Linked DNA regions of Homo sapiens: all the other regions are linked to region 3. The links are contacts of gene promoters, found by promoter capture Hi-C in blood cells and fetal thymus (Javierre and others, 2016). All regions are on one chromosome and are shown on one strand. The core of a region is centred on a gene start or on the middle of the fragment in contact, and the rest is flanking DNA. Distances in the headings are between cores, read along the strand shown.

The links. The method cuts DNA at HindIII sites, captures the fragments that hold promoters and counts their contacts. A CHiCAGO score of 5 or more calls a contact.
Region 1: a fragment that was not itself captured here is called in contact with the fragment with the promoter of THAP9 in region 3 in 5 of 17 cell types (naive CD8 T cells, monocytes, non-activated CD4 T cells and 2 more); the score reaches 7.8 in naive CD8 T cells.
Region 2: a fragment that was not itself captured here is called in contact with the fragment with the promoter of THAP9 in region 3 in 16 of 17 cell types (fetal thymus, naive CD8 T cells, total CD8 T cells and 13 more); the score reaches 21.6 in fetal thymus.
Region 4: a fragment that was not itself captured here is called in contact with the fragment with the promoter of THAP9 in region 3 in 1 of 17 cell types (total B cells); the score reaches 6.4 in total B cells.
Region 5: a contact is called between a fragment that was not itself captured here and the fragment with the promoter of THAP9 in region 3, in 1 of 17 cell types (naive CD4 T cells). The highest score is 5.2, in naive CD4 T cells.
Region 6: a contact is called between a fragment that was not itself captured here and the fragment with the promoter of THAP9 in region 3, in 1 of 17 cell types (total CD8 T cells). The highest score is 7.0, in total CD8 T cells.
Region 7: a fragment that was not itself captured here is called in contact with the fragment with the promoter of THAP9 in region 3 in 1 of 17 cell types (naive CD4 T cells); the score reaches 5.3 in naive CD4 T cells.

The regions. Positions count from the first base shown.
Region 1 is chr4:83,331,150-83,334,151 of GRCh38, reverse strand. All of the region lies in intron 1 of HPSE (heparanase), which reads left to right. Among named protein-coding and RNA genes, the nearest start is that of HPSE, 2.2 kb to the left of the region's middle. The HindIII fragment of the contact is 1,049 bases long and covers 868-1,916 here.
Region 2 is chr4:83,280,665-83,283,685 of GRCh38, reverse strand. All of the region lies in intron 1 of COQ2 (coenzyme Q2, polyprenyltransferase), which reads left to right. Among named protein-coding and RNA genes, the nearest start is that of COQ2, 2.6 kb to the left of the region's middle. The HindIII fragment of the contact is 3,876 bases long and covers 1-3,021 here.
Region 3 is chr4:82,899,285-82,901,984 of GRCh38, reverse strand. It overlaps THAP9 (THAP domain containing 9), which reads right to left and starts at 1,250. Exons shown (of 5, transcript NM_024672.6): 1 at 1,103-1,250. The coding sequence starts at 1,182. It overlaps THAP9-AS1 (THAP9 antisense RNA 1), which reads left to right and starts at 1,069. Exons shown (of 4, transcript NR_034077.1): 1 at 1,069-1,651; 2 at 1,762-1,908. It also overlaps a transcript of SEC31A not described here. RefSeq lists a silencer at 891-1,240 and enhancers at 766-1,285, 1,551-1,670, 1,286-1,805. The HindIII fragment of the contact is 4,998 bases long and covers 1-2,700 here.
Region 4 is chr4:83,301,224-83,303,945 of GRCh38, reverse strand. It overlaps HPSE (heparanase), which reads left to right. Exons shown (of 12, transcript NM_001098540.3): 10 at 1,678-1,796. Among named protein-coding and RNA genes, the nearest start is that of COQ2, 18 kb to the right of the region's middle. The HindIII fragment of the contact is 992 bases long and covers 772-1,763 here.
Region 5 is chr4:82,468,135-82,470,834 of GRCh38, reverse strand. It overlaps LOC105377310 (a long non-coding RNA gene), which reads right to left and starts at 1,830. Exons shown (of 3, transcript XR_007058164.1): 1 at 518-1,830. The HindIII fragment of the contact is 581 bases long and covers 1,068-1,648 here.
Region 6 is chr4:83,263,143-83,265,990 of GRCh38, reverse strand. COQ2 (coenzyme Q2, polyprenyltransferase) reads left to right here. Exons shown (of 7, transcript NM_001358921.2): 7 at 1,628-2,167. The coding sequence ends at 1,792. Among named protein-coding and RNA genes, the nearest start is that of COQ2, 20 kb to the left of the region's middle. The HindIII fragment of the contact is 4,496 bases long and covers 1-2,848 here.
Region 7 is chr4:83,350,723-83,353,662 of GRCh38, reverse strand. No RefSeq gene overlaps it. Among named protein-coding and RNA genes, the nearest start is that of HPSE, 17 kb to the right of the region's middle. The HindIII fragment of the contact is 306 bases long and covers 1,256-1,561 here.

The DNA of each region.
Region 1 (3,002 bases), core at 143-2,642, 430 kb before region 3:
ACACATTGTTTAGCGCCCACTCTAAATGAGCCTTTTTGTTTCATTCATTCTGTAAGTGTTGAATAGGCACCACCTAAGGTCAGGTATAAGTGGAAATTTGAAAAAGAAACTGCCCACTTGCCCCAGTACTTCCCTAGCCAAGAGGAGGGAAACCAGGCAGGTGCACCTGAAGGCCTGTGAGTGCTTGATTTGCTGTGCAGTGTAGGACAAGTAAGATTGTGCATAGCCTTCTGTATTTAAGACTGTGTTAGGAAGATTTCTCTTTCTTTTCTTTTCTTTTTCTTTTTTCTTTTCTTTTTTTTTTTTTAGGCAGATGAAAAGGGCGTCACAGAACAGGAATAAAAATCTAAATATTCAATAAATGAGACCTAGGAGACTACTGCAGTGACTTACAAAGTCCTAATAAAAAGATGTCTCTCCAAAATGGGGCTGCAAAATGTGGTGCTGCCTTATCAGCTCTAAGTTTTTTCCTTACCTGAGAAAGAAGGAACCTGATGCAGGTTCAGGGCTCCTGCCCCATGAATGCAGGCTGACTCCAAGATGGGGAGCTACAGGGACAATCCCAGGTCTTCTAGGCCTCTTATTTAGGCCCTGGGAGCCTCCAGAGATGGCCACATCTTGACCAGCCCAGATAGAGGGAAAGATCACCATTATCTCACCTCTGTGTCAAATACCTAGATGCTGTCCTCCCTGAGCCCACACTATAGTTGCCAGCGCTAATTTAATGGGTAGTGTACTGGTTAAGAGATGGACAGACCATCCTGGCTTGACTCTCAGCTCTGGCAAAGATGAGTGACTTGGTTTTTCCATATCTCTTGGCCACACCAACCTTGATTTCTTCAGCTGTAGAATGGAATTTCTCAAGCTTGCCTCAAGGATTATTGCCCGAGGATTTGATGATATGGTAAGAGCTTCTCAGTGTTTGACCCATAGTAAGTGTTTGACGTTTCAAACGAATTGTTTCTTTCTAGGACATGGTGAGCATTTGGTAGCCATTCACCGGTTTTCTGTTTCTTTGGATCATAGTTAACCTCTCCTTTTCCTTCTGGCACTACAATTTTCTGGTGGGGAAGAATCCTTACTTTCTGCCCTTCCCCTTAAGGATAGGAAGCTGATACTAGGCAGCAACTAGTTGGGGGATAGGAAGATTGTTCCAGAGAAATGCTGAACCATAGGGCTCCAGATCACAGGACCCCAGTCTTAGCTTGCTGGGGTGTGGGGTGGGGGGGGGCGGTTACTGAACATGGGTATGAAGTAGATGTCCATTTACTGAAATGTGAGGACCTGAGGCCTCTTCTATTGCTGTAGCCAGCATATTCCCCAACCTCTCCCCAAGAAAGGACAGATGGGGGTTCCCCCCTGGAGTAACAGGTCCAAAAGAAAAAACATACAGTGGGACTTCCAGGATCTGGGCCTGATCACCCAGCAGTCAAGCTCCCCGCAATTGACTAACACCCCCCTAACACGTAGAAATTCCAATCTGCAATTTAGTGAGGATGATACCTTTATTCTTCTTAAATACATCTCTTCATTTCCCAGAGCACCCTTTTTTCCCCTCCTCTGCACCTTTTTGTTAAAGACTGGAGTATAATGAAATACCAAGAGAGCATAACATGTGATACATAAAACTTTTTTTCTGGTTTACAAAACAGTTCATTCTTGTCCATACGTGCTTCTCTCCAAGGCTGGCTGCTGTCTGTTCCAGCCCGCTTCGCTTGGAGAGGCCATCTGCCATACCTGCTCCCCAGACGCATCGACAAGCACACCCAGAGTGTTATCTGCTAAGACCTAAAAGAGGGAGGAACCCCCTCTCCTCATCTAAGACCTAGCTTCTAAATTAGAGTGTGAGGGTCCATCTCCCCAGGAGGGGCACAGGGCCCAAACAGCCCAGCCATCTCAGAAGACAACACTAAGCTTTGTAGGGGTCCACAGTAGAGGAGAGTAAGACGCCTGTTGTTTAATTTATTACAGTTCCTCAAAAGTGAAGATGTGTGGGCGGGATGGCAAGAGCTGAGCAGACGAAAGCTGAAGGAATAAGGAAAGAGAGGAGGACACAAACAGCTGACACTTCCTCAGTTCTTGTCATTTGCCTGGCCCTGTTCTAAGCACCTTCTAGGTATTAATCCATTTAGTCTTGGCTACAACACTGTGAGTGACTAGTTTTGTCACCCCCATTTTAAAAATGAAGAAAGTGAGGCTCAGGGAGGTTAAGTAACTTGGCCACAGTTTGAAACTAGACTCTGATCACATGAGATAATAGTGCCCATAAAAAGGGAAAGCAGATTATATTTTTTAAAGGAAAGAGAGTAGGATATGGTAGAAAAAGATTGTTTGGAAAGGAATTGAGAGATTGATATAATGAAAAGAAGCATTCACATGAGAGTAACAGTATCAGGGCCCAAACCTTCATCTAAGGTACTTCAAAGAGGCCTAAGCAAACTTAGTCACTGGCGTGGTTCTAGTCTCCATGATGGCAAATACATTGTGTACAGCCCAACTCCACACAAAACTTAAATACCAATGATAGAGCAATCTAAAATTTGAAAGAAAAAATCTTTCAATTTGTCGTCTTCCCAGAGGGACTTAATCAAGAAACCAATCAAAATACTTCCTAAGCCTAACTGTGTGCAGAACTCCAAAGAGAGCCCAGCCCTAAATCAACACTGTCCAATGGAAATATAATATAATGTGGGCCTCATATGCAAGGTCATATGTAATTTTAAATTTTCTAGTAGCCATATTAAAAAGGTAAAAAGAAACAAGTGAAATTAATTTTAATAATTTTATTTAGTTCAATAGATCCAAAATGTTTTCTCAGCATGTAATCAATATAAAAATATTAATGAGGTATTTATTATTCCTTTTCTCAAACCAAGTCTATTCTATAATCTGGCGTGTATTATTTACAGCACTTCTCAGACTATATTTCTTTCTTTCTTTTTTTTTTCCGAGACAATTTTGCTCTTGTCACCCAAGCTAGAGTACAATGGCGTTACCTCGGC
Region 2 (3,021 bases), core at 54-2,553, 380 kb before region 3:
TATGGAAACCCTTTGCTTTCAAGGAACTCTGGTCTAGTTGAAAAAGACTATTTGGTGAGCTAGGAAAATATGGATCAAATATGAGTGATACAAAAGCAAGTGCTACAGGAAAAAGAGAAATTACTGTGGATCCCTTGCTGGAAAGTTTCGAGAAGAAATTATACTCCAAAGGACAAGTTGATTTTGCAGAGGAGGGAAGAGATCTTAGTGCGGGAAGTACTTTTGCAAAGACCCAAGGGTGGAGTGTTAGAACACTAAGAATACGAGCCTGACCTGGAACACCAAGTGGGTGTGGAAAATGGGAAACGAGACTAGACAAGAACATATCTGAAGAAGCTGGATAGCGTGGAGGAAGAAGTGAAGGATGAACTCCAGCCAATCTAGATGATGACATTTGCCATTGCAGTGTATGGAGATGTAGTCAAAGGCCTAGGTACATTTACTCCACTTTTGCCCGTACAAGACCCGAATTAGGCCTTGCTTTTGGTATTCTAGATTTATGCACGACCTATTTGGGATTAGAGCACTAAGTTATAACAATCAGCTATCAAAGCATAAAAGCCTACTGAATGATAGGTACAGCCCTGCCATCATTGGGAAGCTGTGTATGACCCCCATGAGTTTTGGGGCCACATTCACGTTGAGAGGCATGCATTTCCAAGCCCAGTTCCAATCTGAAGCCTGGCTGTAATTCTGTTCTTGGAGTCTGTGGCATGGAGTGGCAGTGTAGCCTTATAGATGAACATCTGCCATTATTCCCATTTCCCCAGTTAAACCTCTGGCTTCTATCTTAGTGGCTGGACCTTCCGCCATGTAACAGAAGGCAACAAAGGGGTTATGAGCAAAACTTTGGAGCCAAACCTCTTGGATGTGAACCTCCACCCTGCTCATCTGAGGGACCTTGGATAAATTACTTCACCTCTCTGGGCATCCGTTTTTCATCTGTAAAATGAAGATACTATTAATGATAATATGGACGTTATGAGGTCACGAAAATTCATTAATATATGTTAAGTGCTTAGAACAGTGCCTGTCATAATATGTGCTGAAGAAATAGCCATTATTATCTTAGAAGTGGGGAATGGAGAAAATTGTACTTACAGATTGTGTATGTTTGGAAGATACCAGCCTGCATGGTTTGGTTCTAAATAAGGTGATCATTACAGGATTTTTCAGAAAACTAAATAGTACTATGTTAGAATTCGCTCAACAAATGTATTTTGAACCCCTACCATATGCCAGAAACAATAATTGACAGGAGTAGAATTCCAGGTTTGATAATTCTTTATTTAAATTCTTATTTTGTGGGATAATTATGTGTTCGTTGTTTTACTTTGTTGAAGTTATATCTTGTTACCTTCATTGATCAATAGTAGGTTTTCGTTGTTTTTGAGAAGGCAATACAGCTTCTTTCAAATGGGCTAAACTACCTTATTCCAGAAAGTGTCAGCAGGTGGCACTCTTTCCACCAAATTGGAAGTGTAATTTTTTGTTTTACCACGTTTATGGGTGATTATGTTGTCTTGAAGATCATCTGTTTTTGATCTGTCCATCACCCCTCAGAACTTGCTCATTTTATTTCATCTCCCATAGAGTTTTTCCCTTTTCTACAAAAACATTTCTTTTTGCAATCTACTTGTCTCTTGTCTTTGCTACCTCTGCGTCTTTCTTCACAGAAAAGTATGGGGAATGAAAGTGTCATATGGAAGACAAAAAAAAAAAAACATTGCTAGGAATCAGTAGGGACAAAAGAACAGGTGAAACTGAAGTGTATGGAGAGATTTAGGGAGTACAGAGTGACAGCATTGGACTTAGGACACAGACTGCAGCCAGACTGTCTGGGTTGGAATACCACCTTAGCCTTTTTTTACCTGTGTGGTCTTGGGCACAATTACTCCCTCTCTGCGTCAGTTTCTGTATTTGTAAAATGGTTGTAATAAAAATAGTGCCTATCGAATAGGCTTGTTGTGAGAGTCAAAAGTGTTCTGTGAAACCACCTGGTACAGTAAGTGCCATGTATCTGTTATTACGGTTGTCATAACATCATTAATATTGTCATCTCTTAACGACTCTGTGAGGTAGCTGTTCTCTTCCCTCATTTACAGATGAAACAAAGACTTAAGCCTTAAGATACTTTACTGTCTAGTGTCACTCAACTTACAAGTGGCAGACATAGAACTGAGAAGTCTTCTTACTTTCCCCTTCACTGTAGGAACCCTTGTCATCTGTAGGGGAGCTCTACAGATTCCTATCAGTAAGTGAATACGGTACTTTTAATACAGATTTTTGGCCAAGGAAGTTTTGTTCCTGACAGAAAACACTATAAGTGGTTACACGTCTTTCTGTCTAGAATTTTTTTCTTTTTAGTGGAACCTTCTGTTCTAATTGTACCAGGAAATAATAGCTGTGAAGTGGTATTCTCTCTTCTCTAGCCTAGGAGGATAGGATCAGCTACTCCTCTGTCCCTTGTGAACTATACTCATAGCTCCAGGGTAAAGAAAGTAGTTAAACCTACTGTGTTTTACTTAAACCACTCTGTTTATCTGTTTCCTCATCTGTAAGATAGGGTTATTAACAGTACCTACTATGTAAAGATGTTACTTGGGAGGCTGAGGTGGAAGTATTGCTTGAGCCTGGAAGTCAGAAGCTGTAGTGAACTATGACCTTGTTACTGCACTCCAGCCTCGGCAAGAGAGCGAGACCCTGTCTCTAATGTAAATATATAAATAAATAAGTTTAATATAAAGATGTCATTGAAGATTAAATAAGTTTAGACATATAAAGCATTTAGAACACTGCCTGATGCTTTGTGAGCACTCCGTAAATATTAGCCATTGTTACTGTGGAGTGCACCAAGTATGAGTCTGTCCAGGACAACCTGAATTCAGGTCTGGACTGACCATTTCTCAAGGTTTTAGCTTGAGGCTTCTCCTTGACTTCTCTGTTGTGTAAATTTAGATCCCCTTTGGAAAAGACCCTCTGATTCCTCTCTCCCTCCTCCTAAAACTAGCTAACTAACTT
Region 3 (2,700 bases), core at 1-2,500:
AAAGTCTTACGTTTTAGTTTTACAAAATTCTACAAGGCAGGTTTTTATTCCTCTTACAGAAGAAGAAACCAAGACCCAGAGCCAAGTACAGACATCAGTAAATACTCAATTAAAATTGGAATTCATGTCTCCCTAGTTTAAAACTACCTCTATCACAAGAAAAATCCCAAATCAATTATGGTCTCACATACACAATGAGTTGGTTCACACTGCTAACAATTTAGGTGGAGGAATCAGCCCTATTTAAAAAATAGAAAACAAAAAAAAAAAAAAATCAATGAATTTTATACATAGCCTACCATACATACTCTAAACTCCTTAACCTGGCATTTACATTTTTAAAATGGTTTCTCAGGTACTTTTCCACTCCTCTATATTTGCACTTTCTATCCTTTACATTTTCCCATGCCATTCCTAACTACCCTCTTCCTACCCCCCCTTTCCAACCATAAAGTTCTTTTTGATCTTTCCATAAATCTGCTCCTTTTGTCTGTGAGGATCTATTTTACCCACTTTTCTACTTGCTAGTGTACCCTGAATACTGAATGACCTATACCAGTCTGAACCATGGATATGAGTTCAGATAAGACTGATCTGAAATTCTTCCCCACTGTCGAGCCAAATGAAACTTCCCTGCCATGATCAAATCCAGCCAGAATCGGACCGGCCTTGCACAGCTCGGCTAACAGCACTTAAGAACTTGCAATGTCAGGCAGTACAGGAGAAAACTGATCTGTACTCGTGCTCAGGAAGACGCCACACACACACTTCAACCGTTGTCCTAAACTGCCTTCCCTTTCGGCCTCCTCACTTCAAATAATAAGACCATCCAATTAATGGAGGACTCCTTTCGCGTAACTCTCCTTAAAGCGGTAGGCGGTGCGAGAACCGGCTATTCAGAGGTAAACACTGGGCGGGAAGAGAGAGAATCTCAATTCTCACAGTGCCCCAATTCCGCTCCCACGCCCCGACGCTGCGCACGTCACGTCGCGTCACACACGCGGCGCGACCCACAGTGCGGCCCGGCCCCGCCCCACGCCACGCCACGGCCCGCCGGGCCCCGCAGGGAGTTCGAAGGCTTCGAGGCTGCTCCCATACGCACTGGTGGAAGGAGAGGCCGCGCTCCCGGCTGAGCACGGTGTCACGGGTGCTGCAGCCCACTGCGGAGCAACTTCGGGTCATCTTCTTGTTACGTGGGGCCCCACCTTCGGGGTTCCCGCGACAGCATGAATCACGACCACTTTAGCTCCGCCCGTTGACTCTGCGGCTACGACCTTTATTTGTCACGAAAGGCGGGCTTTAGAGGCGCGGGACTTCCACACTTCCTCTCCGAAGGCCCTGCGCCGGTGCCGTAGCCAATGACAGGCCACGTTGTGTCCCAGCAGCCAATCGGAAGGGCCTGAGCCTGAAGACGTGCATTTGACCGCTCCTCCCTCCGCGTTGGAGGCGGAATAGTGGGTTTTGCTGCAACCGGTTTATTTTCCTTCTGTTTTCACCCATTCTGGCACAATCTGGCGCCATCGTCCTTCTTGTGAGGCCAAGCCTGAAAATGCGAAGCAGAGAGGCAGGACCAAAATTGAGGCGAATCCAGGAACCTGCCAATGGGTCTCCGGGTGCGGTCTCTGAAACTGGAGGATATCGGGAGGAAAGGGTATGGAAGAGGGATAAAACACGGTGCCTTAGGTGTGTTGAAGACAGAGTCGGGCCAAAAATATATGATTTACTGAGATGCGTGTCGTGTTCTTGCGCTTTATCTTGTAGCTCTCCGATGCGGAGATAATGGGGAAGCTCTTGGCATGGTTGGCTGTAGGTATGTGATACCGGAGGAGCAGGAGTCAAATAGGATACGCCGACTTTTAATTCAAGGAACCCTTTTCTGAAACACTTTGCCACAATGAAGGAAATAAGGTAAGGTTCTTGGGGCTCCTCAGTAGTAATAGGGGCAGGGGACAAGGGGCAATTAAGTGGTTTTGGTTGGGAATGAGGCATTATGAATAGCTTTCAGGAGATAGAGCTTAGAACAATGTCTTAGTTATAAGCTCTTATGTTTGAGGAAGAGATTTCAATTTGCTTAGAGAAGGAAACGGGCCAGTGGGTTTTTGTCTCTGAGAAGGAGATCCTTAGCATACAGAAAACAGAGAAGGGTTTGCAACTTTTCCGTTTCTTTGTATAGCACACAAAAATAATTCCAAATATCCAGGCCTAACAAGATTGCTTCTTTTTCCCCTTTGTGTTTACTTTGTCCAGATTACAGCCGAAGATACATATTAAGGTATTACTTATTCACACCAGTTTTCCATTATAATATGCTTGTATCTTCTCTGAATGGAATTAATAGCTTTTGGTTATGGTTCCTTAAAAGTCACATGGCCTAAGGATAGATGGTCAAGGAACTTTGGAAAAATTGGTCCCTGGGGGATGTGCAGGGCAAATACTTTTTGGCTGTAAGGTGTGTGCAGAGAGTAAGAACTGGATTTAAATACTGTAAGTTGGTTGGGCTGTTAGAGCCTTTTCCTGCTCAACCAATTAAGACCCGAGTGAGGCTGAATAAAAATAACATTGTTTTTAGCTATCTTTAAGGAAAAAATTAGTTGCCTTATATTTTTGTAACAGTTTTACTCAGATATAATTCTCATACCACACAACTAATTGGTTTAAAGTGTACAATTCAGTGGGTTTTAGTATATGCACAGAATTGTG
Region 4 (2,722 bases), core at 18-2,517, 400 kb before region 3:
CCTGCATACTTTGATCTTGTTTAATCCGTAATCCTTCCCACTTTTCACCTCCTACCTATTAGATTACTTTGAAGCAAATTTCAGATATATTACTTTATCTATAAATATTTCAGTATGTGCTAGGTGTGGTGGCTCACACCTGTAATCCCAACACTTTGGGAAGCTGAGGCAGGAGGATCACTTGAGCCCAGGAGTTCAAGACCAGCTACGGCAACAAAAAATCAAAAACTTATCTGGGCATGGTGGCACATGCCTGTGGTCCCAGCTACATGAGAGGCTGAGGCAGGAGGATCGCTTTAGCCCAGGAGGTTGAGGCTGCAGTAAGCTGCATTCACACCACTGCACTCCAGCCTGGGTGACAGAGTAAGACCATGTCTCAAAAAAATACATATTTTAGTATGTATCCTTTTTGTAAAAACACAATACTTTTATCATACTTTAAATAATAACAATAATTCCTTAGTATCACCAAATATTTTGTCAGTGTCTCACATTTTCCTTGTCTAAAATATTGTTGATAGTTATTCAAATCAGAATCCAAACAAGGTCCATATATTACATTTGGTTGATAAGTCTCTTAAGTTTGTTCATCTTTAAGTTATTCCTCCCTCTCTTTCATCTCTTGTAATTTATTAATGTGAAAAAACAGGTAATTTGTTCTATAGTATTTCCTACATTATAGAGTTTGCTAAATTTATTCCCTATGATATCATTTAGCATGTTCCTCTGTCCCCTGTGTTTCCTGTAAACTGGTAGTTATACCTAGAAGCTTGAGTTTATTCAGGTTTTTAATTGTATTTTTTTGCAAGAATTCTTTATTATCTGCTTCTGGAAGCACAGAATGTCTGGTTGTGTCTGGTTTTGATCTTGACAGCTACTGATGACCATTGCCTAATCCATTACTTTATTGGGGTGGGGGGAATAAGGTTTTAAAATAAATTTTTTTTTAAGATTTTTTTAACTGTTATTTTGAGACAGTGTCTCATTTCGTTTCCCAGGCTGGAGTGCAGTGGCACAATCACGGCTCACTGCAGCCTTGACCTCCTGGGATCAGGTGATCTTCTCACCTCAGCCTCCTGGGTACCTGGAACTACAGGTGCACACCACCACACCTGGCTAATTTTTTGTATTTTGTGTACAGAAGGGGTTTCATCATGTTTCCCAGACTGGTCTTGAACTCCTGGGTTCAAGTGATCTACCCACTTCAGCTTCCCAAAATCCTGGGATTACACTTTGGCCACCGTGCCTGGCCTAAATGAAATTATTTGTCTCTAAACAGACAGAAGTTTTACTTTAAAAATTTGTCTTTGTGTGTACATGTGTTTGTGTATGTGTGTGTGTCTAAAAGTTTGGCTTTGAGCTTTGCTTTGAATTCTTGGATGAACGATAACCAAGAATACTTAAACTCTGATCATTCTTGACAGATATCCCCTACAGGCTATGGCCTTTTGAATTGTGTCCTCCAGTGATAAAAAGCAGCAAGCACGATACTGCTCTCAGATTCATGGTGGTCACATGTGAGGGGAAAAAAAAAAAAAAGATGAATCCTATTTAAATGCCCCCAGGATAACAGTGATACTCTTTGTAGGATAACTATTTGCTTGCCACTGGTTTCATTAAATAAGGACATAAGTAAACATCTATTTTTGTCTCTTTCTCCCCAACCACCACAACTAGGATTATTGGCTATCTCTTCTGTTCAAGAAATTGGTGGGCACCAAGGTGTTAATGGCAAGCGTGCAAGGTTCAAAGAGAAGGAAGCTTCGAGTATACCTTCATTGCACAAACACTGACAAGTAAGTATGAAACACACCCTTTACCAATCATCAAGTTTTAGTGGGTAAGCCTGTAACTTTACTCAAACACCCTGTTGCATGTGTCTATACATTGCATAAGTATAGGCAGTTGCAATTTAGTAAAGTTTTATACAACGATTTTATTTTATTTTATTTTTAGAAGAAAAATGCTACTTTTGTTGTTGTTGTTTTTTGAGACGGGGCCTCGCTCGTCACCCAGGCTGGAGTGCAGTGGTGCAATCTCAGCTCACTGCAACCTCCGCCTCCCGGGTTCAAGTGATTCTTGAAGAGGAGAACAATAATAACAACAATATTATTTTCAAAAGTTGTGACCGCAGTTTCTGGAGTTGAGAAGACATCGAGATTTTTGTAGCCTCATACTCTTGCTTTAGGTAGCAAAAAATGTTCCTAAATCTCAGGAATATTCTCTAGATAGGTTTCAATCTATCATTCCTGATAAGATGATGCTGAAATACTAATTCTAGCCAAAAAAGACCAGCTACCATTTCCGATTGTTGGTGACTGGGAACTCTGGATAGTGAGGACCCCAGTAGGAAGTAGCGAGGGGAATGGTTTGAATGGATAAATTCATAAAAAATGTCAGTAGATTTAATTTTCTTATACATTTCAGTCTTTTTATAAGGCTAGGAAAAGCCCCTGTTTTTATGGTTTATAATTTGAATTCACATGAACCCACAAAATTTGCCTTTTACCTTCCTATGTCTGAAAATGGATAGTCTGGCTGGCCTCTTAACAACCCAGCTGGCAGAGCTGTGAGGATCTCAGTGTGCTCTAGCCCAGACATTGGTAGCATGAACGGCAACATTTTTAATTGTGTTTTCAAAATAGGAGCACACTAGCGGTCTAAAACGATCATAAAAGAAGGATACTAAGAGGGCCCACTGTCATTATGGATCCTAATACTT
Region 5 (2,700 bases), core at 109-2,608, 430 kb after region 3:
ATTACTTGCCCTTGGAAGGCTTTAAGCAGTACCCTTTTCTAGTATAAAGCCTGAAAGCACTATGCTTATTATCAGCAGTCTTTTTCTATTGTGGCATTTTATTTTGTAGGAATAACTACTGGAGCTTCAAGCACAGGCTGCTAGGAATGGGAAGAAAACGAATTTGAGAGGCACTGTGCAAAAGACAACAGGTGTGACTTGCTGCCTGTGGAGGAGGGTGAAGGGGAAGAAAGCGTCAAAGACATTCTGAAGGTTCAAGCCTGTATGACTGGGAAGATGGGGACACTTGCAAAATGTAGGAAGATAAGAGATGCCACCACTTGGAAGGAGACGGGGGAATGATGAGACAATCTCGATGTTCCTAACTGCATACCCCAGCAGAGGCCTTTTAAAAGCCTCGCTGTGCTGAAACGGATGAAAAATCCTGTCCACTGCTTAGTACTATTTGATTCACGTTGGCTGCCAAACAGATTATCACAAAATGTAGTGGCATAAAGCCACCATTTATTATACTCACAGATTCTGTGGGTCAGGAATTCAGACAGGGCACAGCAGGGACAGCTTTTCTCTGAAGTCTGGGGTCTCTACTAGAGAGCTTGAAGGCTGGACGCTGGAAGCATCTGAAGACCAGCCTATTCTTGTGTCTGGAGGTCAAGGCTGGCTGTCAGCTTGAGGCCTTAGTTTTTCTCCATATGGGTGAATCTGGGCTTCTCACAGTGTGGTAGCTGACTTCCCCAGAGCAATTGTCTAACCCCAGCTCTTGAAAAAAGTGAGTCAGCTAGAAGCTGTATCATAACCTAGCTTAGAAAGTTACAAACCATGGCCTCTGTTGTCCTTGTTTGGTTGGAGCAGTCGTAAGTCCCACCCAGTCTCATAGAATGGAACATAGGCCCCACCTCTTGGTGAGAGGACTGCAAAAGTCACATTGTAAGAAAAGCATGTAGGGGTGACATCCATGAACAGGGAAGAATAAGGAACATCAAAAGTCCCTCCAAAAAAGCAATAAATAAACTGGCAAAAACTGCCAGAATCAACTTTTTTAGAATTCTAGAACCTAAGCAAAAGCTTACAGCAACCAGGAGGACTTAATCAAGAAAGACTAACTACTTTTGCAAAAATTATGAGTGAGGGAAATCTAACATAACTGACTCCATCTTCCTTCTAACCTCACAAGCTGTCTTTGCTCATTCCAGGCTAACTATAGGAGGAATTTTGTATTTACTTTTATTTTTATTTTTTGAGACAGGGTTTCACTCTGTCACCCAGGCTGGAGTGCAGTGACACACTCATGGCTCACTGCAGCTTCGACCTCCCAACCTCAAGCAATCCTACTGTCTCAGCCTCCTGAGTAGCTGGGACTACAGGCACATAACCACCATGCCCAGCTAATTTTTGTTTTGTTTTCTTTTGTTTTGATAGATGGGGTTTCATCATATTACCCAGGCTGGTCTTGAACTCCTGGTCTTGAGTGATCCTCCCACCTTGGCCTCCCAAAGTGCTGGGATTACAGGTGTGAGCCACCGTGCCTGGCCTACGAATTTATAGTTTAATGTTAAAACAAAAATGAAAATAGTTCCTTCTCATAACTAACCCCCTCCTTGCTCAGGACCAAAACTGCTTTTGTAAAACTAACCAAAGGCCTCAAGCTTAGAAATGTGATAGGGCCCTGAATTCTGCTAAGATGTAGGCACAAACTCTAATCAGCCATTGTTTCTTCTGCTAAGATGTAGGCAGAGTTAAACTCTAACCAGTCATTGTTTTATAACTTGACTGTTTAAAACTACTTGGCCCGGCACGGTGGCTCATGCCTATAATCCCAGCACTTTGGGAAGCTGAGGTGGGTGGATCACGAGGTCAGGAGTTCAAAACCAGCCTGGCCAAGATGGTGAAACCCCATCTCTACTAAAAATACAAAAAAATTAGCCGGGTGTGGTTGTGGGTGCCTGTAATCCCAGCTACTCGGGAGGCTGAGGCAGAGAATTGCTTGAACCTGGGAGGTGAAGGTTGCAGTGAGCCGAGATGGCACCACAGCACTCCAGCCTGGGCTATAGAGTGAGACTCCATCTAAAAAAAAAAAAAAAACTCTTTACTACTCAGAAGTCACATAGCCACTGGTCACAAGATTTGTAACTTCCCCCAAATGCCCCTGTGGATAACATCACTGTTATAAAACCTAAGACTGATGTTTGAGATATTTTTCAGATTTGAATTTCGTATGGACCAACTGGCACCACCCATTAAAAAAAGTTGCACCCAGATATCAACTCAGCAAAAGAATAGCAACCCCCTATGATTTCATCCTTGACCCAACCCATCAGCATTACTCATTCCCTAGCCTCCTGCCCACCAAACTATCCTTGAAAAACCCTAGTCCCCGAATTCTCAGGGAGGTGGATTTGAGAATTATTTCCCGTCCATCTGCTTGGTGGGCCCTGTGATAATGAAATTATTTGCTGCAACACTCTTGCTGCTCTTAGTGCATTAGCTTTTCTGGGCAGTGGGCAAGAAGAACCCAGCTGGGCAATTACAAAACTACCTGAATCTCAGCAAAAGCTCAGGAAGCTCTGTGGTGATTTAAGTTACCCTCCTTCTAACTCCCACTCCTGTGCTCAGTGATGATGGCCTTGAAGGTAAGAGCCCAGGTTTCTAGCACAGGTAAGAATGCCAGAGGGAGCAGAATAATGGATCTCATTCACAAAG
Region 6 (2,848 bases), core at 57-2,556, 360 kb before region 3:
AATCACAAATACTATAAGGAATATTCGGCCAGGCGCAGTGGCTCACGCCTGTAATCCCAACACTTTGGGAGGCCGAGGTGGGCAGATCACTTGAGGTCAGGAGTTCAAGATCAGCCTGGCCAACATGGATAAACCCTGTCTCTACTAATAATACAAAAATTAGCTGGGCATGGTGGTGTGCACCTGTAATTCCAGCCACTCGAGAGGCTGAGGCAGGAGAATCACTTGAAACCTGGGAGGCAGAGGTTACAGTGAGCCAAGATGGTGCCACTGCACTCCAGCCTGGGTGACAGAAGGAAACTGTGTCTCAAAAACAAAGGAAGAAAAAAGAAATACTTGGAGCCCACTTTATATTTTAAATCACATTTATGGTCCTCTGTCCAGTTTTGTTGTTGTTGTTGTTGTTGTTTGTTTTGAAACAGAGTCTTCCCTCTGTCACCCAGGCTGGAGTGAAGTGGCACGATCTTGGCTCAGTACAACCTCCACCACCTCCTGGTTTCAAGCGATTCTCGTGCCTCAGCCTCCGTAGTAGCTGGGATCACAGGCACACGCCATCATGCCCAGCTCATTTTTGTATTTTTTTAGTAGAGACGGGGCTTCGCCATGTTGGCCAGACTGATCGCAAACTCTTGGCCTTAAGTGATCCGCCCACCTCAGCCTCCCAAAGTGCTGGGATTACAGGCATGAGCCACCACGCCTGGCCTCTCTGTCCAGTTTTCGATACAGTGTTTAAAGATGGACGTAGCCTTTTAGTATTTAAAGAGAAAGGAAATCATGATAATTGTAAGTCTGCAGACCACATAATAAAGAATAGTCCCCCATGCCTAAGGAAGATAGGAACATACGTGAGACTTCCTTAGTGTATTTGCAGGGCTACCATGGGGAAAAAGGAGTACGCTTGTTCTAGATTACTAGCAACAGATTTAGGTCTCTAGCTCCCCTTCCCTAAATGTAGGTCCCTGAACAGGAGAGATTTAGAAATGTGGGAGGGCATTTTTGGTTATAATAAACTAGGAGGGGTGACTATATGGATGATGGCCAGATACAGTCAATATCTTGTGCTGCACCAGATTGCCCTGCATTAGAGTTGTCCTGCCCAAATGGGACTTGTTCTCCATTGAGAAACTTTGCTGCAGACGCTAAAACCAGAACTGGAGGGTAGGAGTTGCAGGGAGACAGACTTTAGATCAGTCAGTATAAGGAAGAACGTTCTAAATCGTTAGAACTAAAAACAGTATGGGTTGCCTCACAAGCATTCATGCAACCCTCAACCGAAAATTCTTAAGAAACAGCTTGGATGATTCCAAGTGAAAAATATGGTAAATTTTTCTTTTTCTTTTTCTTTTTTTTTGAGATAGAGTCTCACTCTCTCACCCAGGCTAGGAGGGTGCAGTAGGGTGATCATGGCTTATTGCAGCCTTGACCTCTTGGCCTCAAGCAATCCTCCCACCTCAGCCTCTTGAGTAGCTGGGACTACAGGCATGTGCCTTCGTGCCTAGCTAATTTTTCATTTTTTATATTTGTATTTTTTGTATTTGCTGTTTTCTCCTCCGTGTTAACATGTTTATTTGTTATGACCCAAAGTCCAGACTAGGTATTAATACAACTTTGTATTCCTCTCTTGCAGATTTACACTCTAGACATCCACAGACCTGAGGATTGTTGGAATAAATTTATCTCCAACCGAACACTGGGACTAATAGTTTTTTTAGGGATTGTCCTTGGGAATTTGTGGAAAGAAAAGAAGACAGACAAAACAAAGAAGGGTATAGAGAATAAAATAGAAAATTAATGAATGAAATTTATCTAGGAATTTTTAAAACATTTTTTACAAAATATAATTAGATTTGAATACAAAATCTGATACAATATGTTAAAGAATTAAGAACCTGAAGATGAAGATTTAGAGCATATTTACCTGGATTTTACTTATTTGCTAGCAAAATTCCCCCTTGTCACAGAAACCAGGGACTCTTCAGGATTTGAGATGGCCTTGAGTATTTTAGTTGATACATTCTTCTGCCCATTATAATTCTCACCTGAAGTTATGGGGATTGCACGGGTTTTGGCACTTTAGAAAAAGCCTGATGTGGGTCTTACATAAATGAATGTCTGTATAAGAAAATGGACTCTTTTTTTTAGGGAAAAATAAAAGCAACTATGGGAAGTTGGGCCTTACTGTTCTTTATTGTGACCTTTAGTCACTGCCAAAAACTGTAATTTAGGAAACCAATTCTGTTTTTTTATGTTTTAGGAGAATTTAAATAACCAAATAGAAGTATTTAGCTATTATAGCCACATGTACCACTGTTTACCAACCCTGACTTTTATTTGGGAGATTTGGTCTCTGTGTGCAGTCACAGTGACCAGAACAGACAAGTGGGCAGTCACCAGAGACTACCTTGATTTTCTGTCTATATCTTTTTTATCTTATCCCATTATAGTTTATAGGATAGTGATATTTAAATGTTTACTGTTTTTTCCTTTACCTGCCCTCACCTTCACAATGTTCTCAACACAGTAACCAGAGTAATTCTCTTAAAACCTGAGTAAGGTCATGTCATTCCTCTCCCCAGAACCCTCCAGGATCTCCCTAGGTCACTCAGTACAAAACGAAAGTCCTACCACCTGCCAGGCCCTCCATGACTTGGCTTCATGTCTGACTTCTCACACTCACACCTGTAGCCCCACTGGCCTCACTCTTCCTTAAACAGGCTGGGCAGACTCCTACCCCAGGGCCTTTGCATTTACTGTTCACTTTGTCTGGAAAGTTCTCCCCAGATCATGTCTTACTCCTTCACTGCAGAACCTTTCTTAAATGTCACCTTCTCTAAGAGGCTTTTCTTAG
Region 7 (2,940 bases), core at 159-2,658, 450 kb before region 3:
ACCTTGAAAACATTGTGCAAAGTGAAAGAAGCCAGACACAAAATGATACATATTGTATGAAATGTCCAGAATAGGCAAATCCATAAAGACAGAAGGTAGATAGCAAGTAAGAATTACTGCTAATGGATATGGAGTTTCTCTTTGGAGTGATGAGAATGTTACGGAATTAGATAGTATTGATGGTTGCACAACCTTGTGAATATACTAAAACCCCTGAATTGTACACTTTAAAATGGTGAATTTATGCTATGAGAATTGTATCTCAATTTAAAAAAATAAGATAGATTGATGAATAGAGAGAGGGATGATTGAATGGATAGACACATAGTTAATTGTAGAATCTAGGTGGTGGTTACAAACTTTTATGTATGTTTACAATTTTTATTATAATAAGAGGATAGAAATGATAGAAAACTTAAAATGTTTCCCTGTTCTGCAGGGTTGTGTCTGAGTTCTGGGGCACTTGCACAGTGCTGAGGAGTGATGCATGTCAGGAGTGAGGCCAGGAGCAGGCAGATGACAGGAGGAAGTGATCTTCCACTCATCTGTCCACCCAGGTATCACCTGGAACATCTATTGGTCCACCTGCCCCTCGGCCATCGGCAAGCCCTTTCTGTCAATTGCAGCTTCATCACTATTTTACAATATGTAATGTGAAAATGTTCAATTGTATCTAAAATTCATTTACTTTATCACAAAAAATTTCAACATTGTCTTTTTTAAGATTTGACTCTGGGTCAACATTATCTTTCTCATGAAAGAAAGGAATTGCTGTGAGATTCTTTTAATAAATACAACTGTTAAAATTTTTTAAATTGTTTATTACCTACTTGCATGAGCAAAGTTTTTATTAGGAATTTGAAGAGATTATTGAAAATCATTAATTAAGATGGTGGACAGACATTTCAAATACACTGAATATTAAATAGTTATGTTCTAGCCAGACATGGTGGCTCACACTTGTAATCCCAATACTTTGAGAGGCCGAGACAGGAGGATTGCTTCAGCCCAGGAGTTGGAGACCAGCTTGGGCAACATAACAAGACCCTGTCTCTACAAAAAAATTTTAAACTTAGCAGGGCATGATGATGTGCACCTGTAGTCCCAGTTACTTGGGAGGCTGAGGCAGAAGGATTGATTGAGCCTGGGAGATTGAGGCTGCAGTGAGCCATGATTGCACCACTGCACTCCAGCTTGGGTGACACTGTGAGACCTTGTCTCAAAAAAAAAAATGTTATCTTCATGAATTCAAGCTTTGATTAAGAAAATGTAAGAAACAGCATTTGGAGGTTGTTTACAAATAAAATATTTAGCAAACGTGTGGCCTGTATTTTATGCTTCTTATCATAATTATATAACATACAAAATGTATTTTACACCAAGGGTGTGCGGATTCCCTCGAAAGCATCAGCTTTCCCAGAGTGCTCTACAAATGCTGTCATTTTCTATGTGTGTCAAGGTGTGCAGTAGGTTAGGAAACTGCACCGTGGTGAGGTGTTAACTCTGAGGCACCTCACAGAATCTTAATGGATTTAGGTTTAGGCTTTTGAAAATAAAAGCTTGTTCTCTGCTTTTTTTTTGCCCCGCTGTGTCACATCCTACATTTGAAACAATGAGCCAAGCTTGCTACTTGTTCAAAAAAGAAGACTAGAAAGAAAAAAGGGACATAGAGTAACATCTCTAAAACAATTCCTAAGATGTGGTCCACAGACCTCCTAAGAGTCTGGAGACCCCTGCAAGGGGTCTGTGAAGTCAAAACTCTTTTCATAATAATATTAAAATGTCATTTGTTCCTTTCACCCTCATTCTCTCCTGAGAGGACAGTGCGATTTTCCAGACACTACATGATGTATTATGATGTAACAAATTTAATGTTGATATTCATGTAAGAATCCAGCCACCTTTTGTTAAGTGAGAATCCAGCCGCCTTTTGTTAAGTGAGACACTAAAGTGATTTGCAGATAAAACAATGCTACTTTTCTCGCTGATTTTCTTGTTTTAAACATAGTTTTTTTAATAAAAATATGCTATTTATATTAATATGAAATGTGTTTATGGCCAGGTGCAGTGGCTCATGCTTGTAATCCCACCACTTTGGAAGGACAAAGCAGGAGAATCACTTGAGGCCAGGAGTTCGAGACCAGCCTTGGCAACATAGCAAGACCCCCATTTCTACAAAAGATGTTTTTTAAAAATTAGCCAGGAGGAACAGAAAACCAAACATGGCATGTTCTCACTCATAAGTGGGAGCTGAACAATGAGGATACATGGACACAGGGAGATATCACACTCCGGTACCTGTCGGGGGGTGTGGGAGCTAGGGGAGGGAGAGCATTAGGACAAATACCTAATGCATGCGGAGCTTAAAACCTAGATGACAGGTTGATAGATGCAGCAAACCACCATGGCACATGTATATCTATGCAACAAACCTGCATGTTCTACACATGTGTCCCAGAACTTTAAAGTAAAATAATAAATACATAAATAAGCCAGGTGTGATGGTACTTGACAGCAGTCCTAGCTACTTGGAAGGCTGAGGTGAGAGGATTGCTTGAGCCCAAGAGTTTGAGGTTACAGTGAGTTATGATCATGCCACTGACCTTCAGCCTGGGTAACAGAACAAGATCCTGTCTCTAAAAGAAAAAAAGTATTTGTTATAGTTACTCTTAATTATTTAACAAATATTTTTTAAATGTCTCAGTTTTAATTTTTAGTGCATCAAATATTGCAGATGTAACCCATGTGAAAAAAACTCTTTGGAATCCCCAGTAATTTGTAATAGTGTAAATGGTTCCTGGGATCAGAAATTTTGAGAACTGCTGCCAAAGTTTTACGCTGCCACACATCTAATATGTAAAAAACTCTGCAGCTATTAAAATGGAGCATGAAAACATGTTTATTACAGTGAAAAGATATCCTTTTCAATTATTAAGTGGG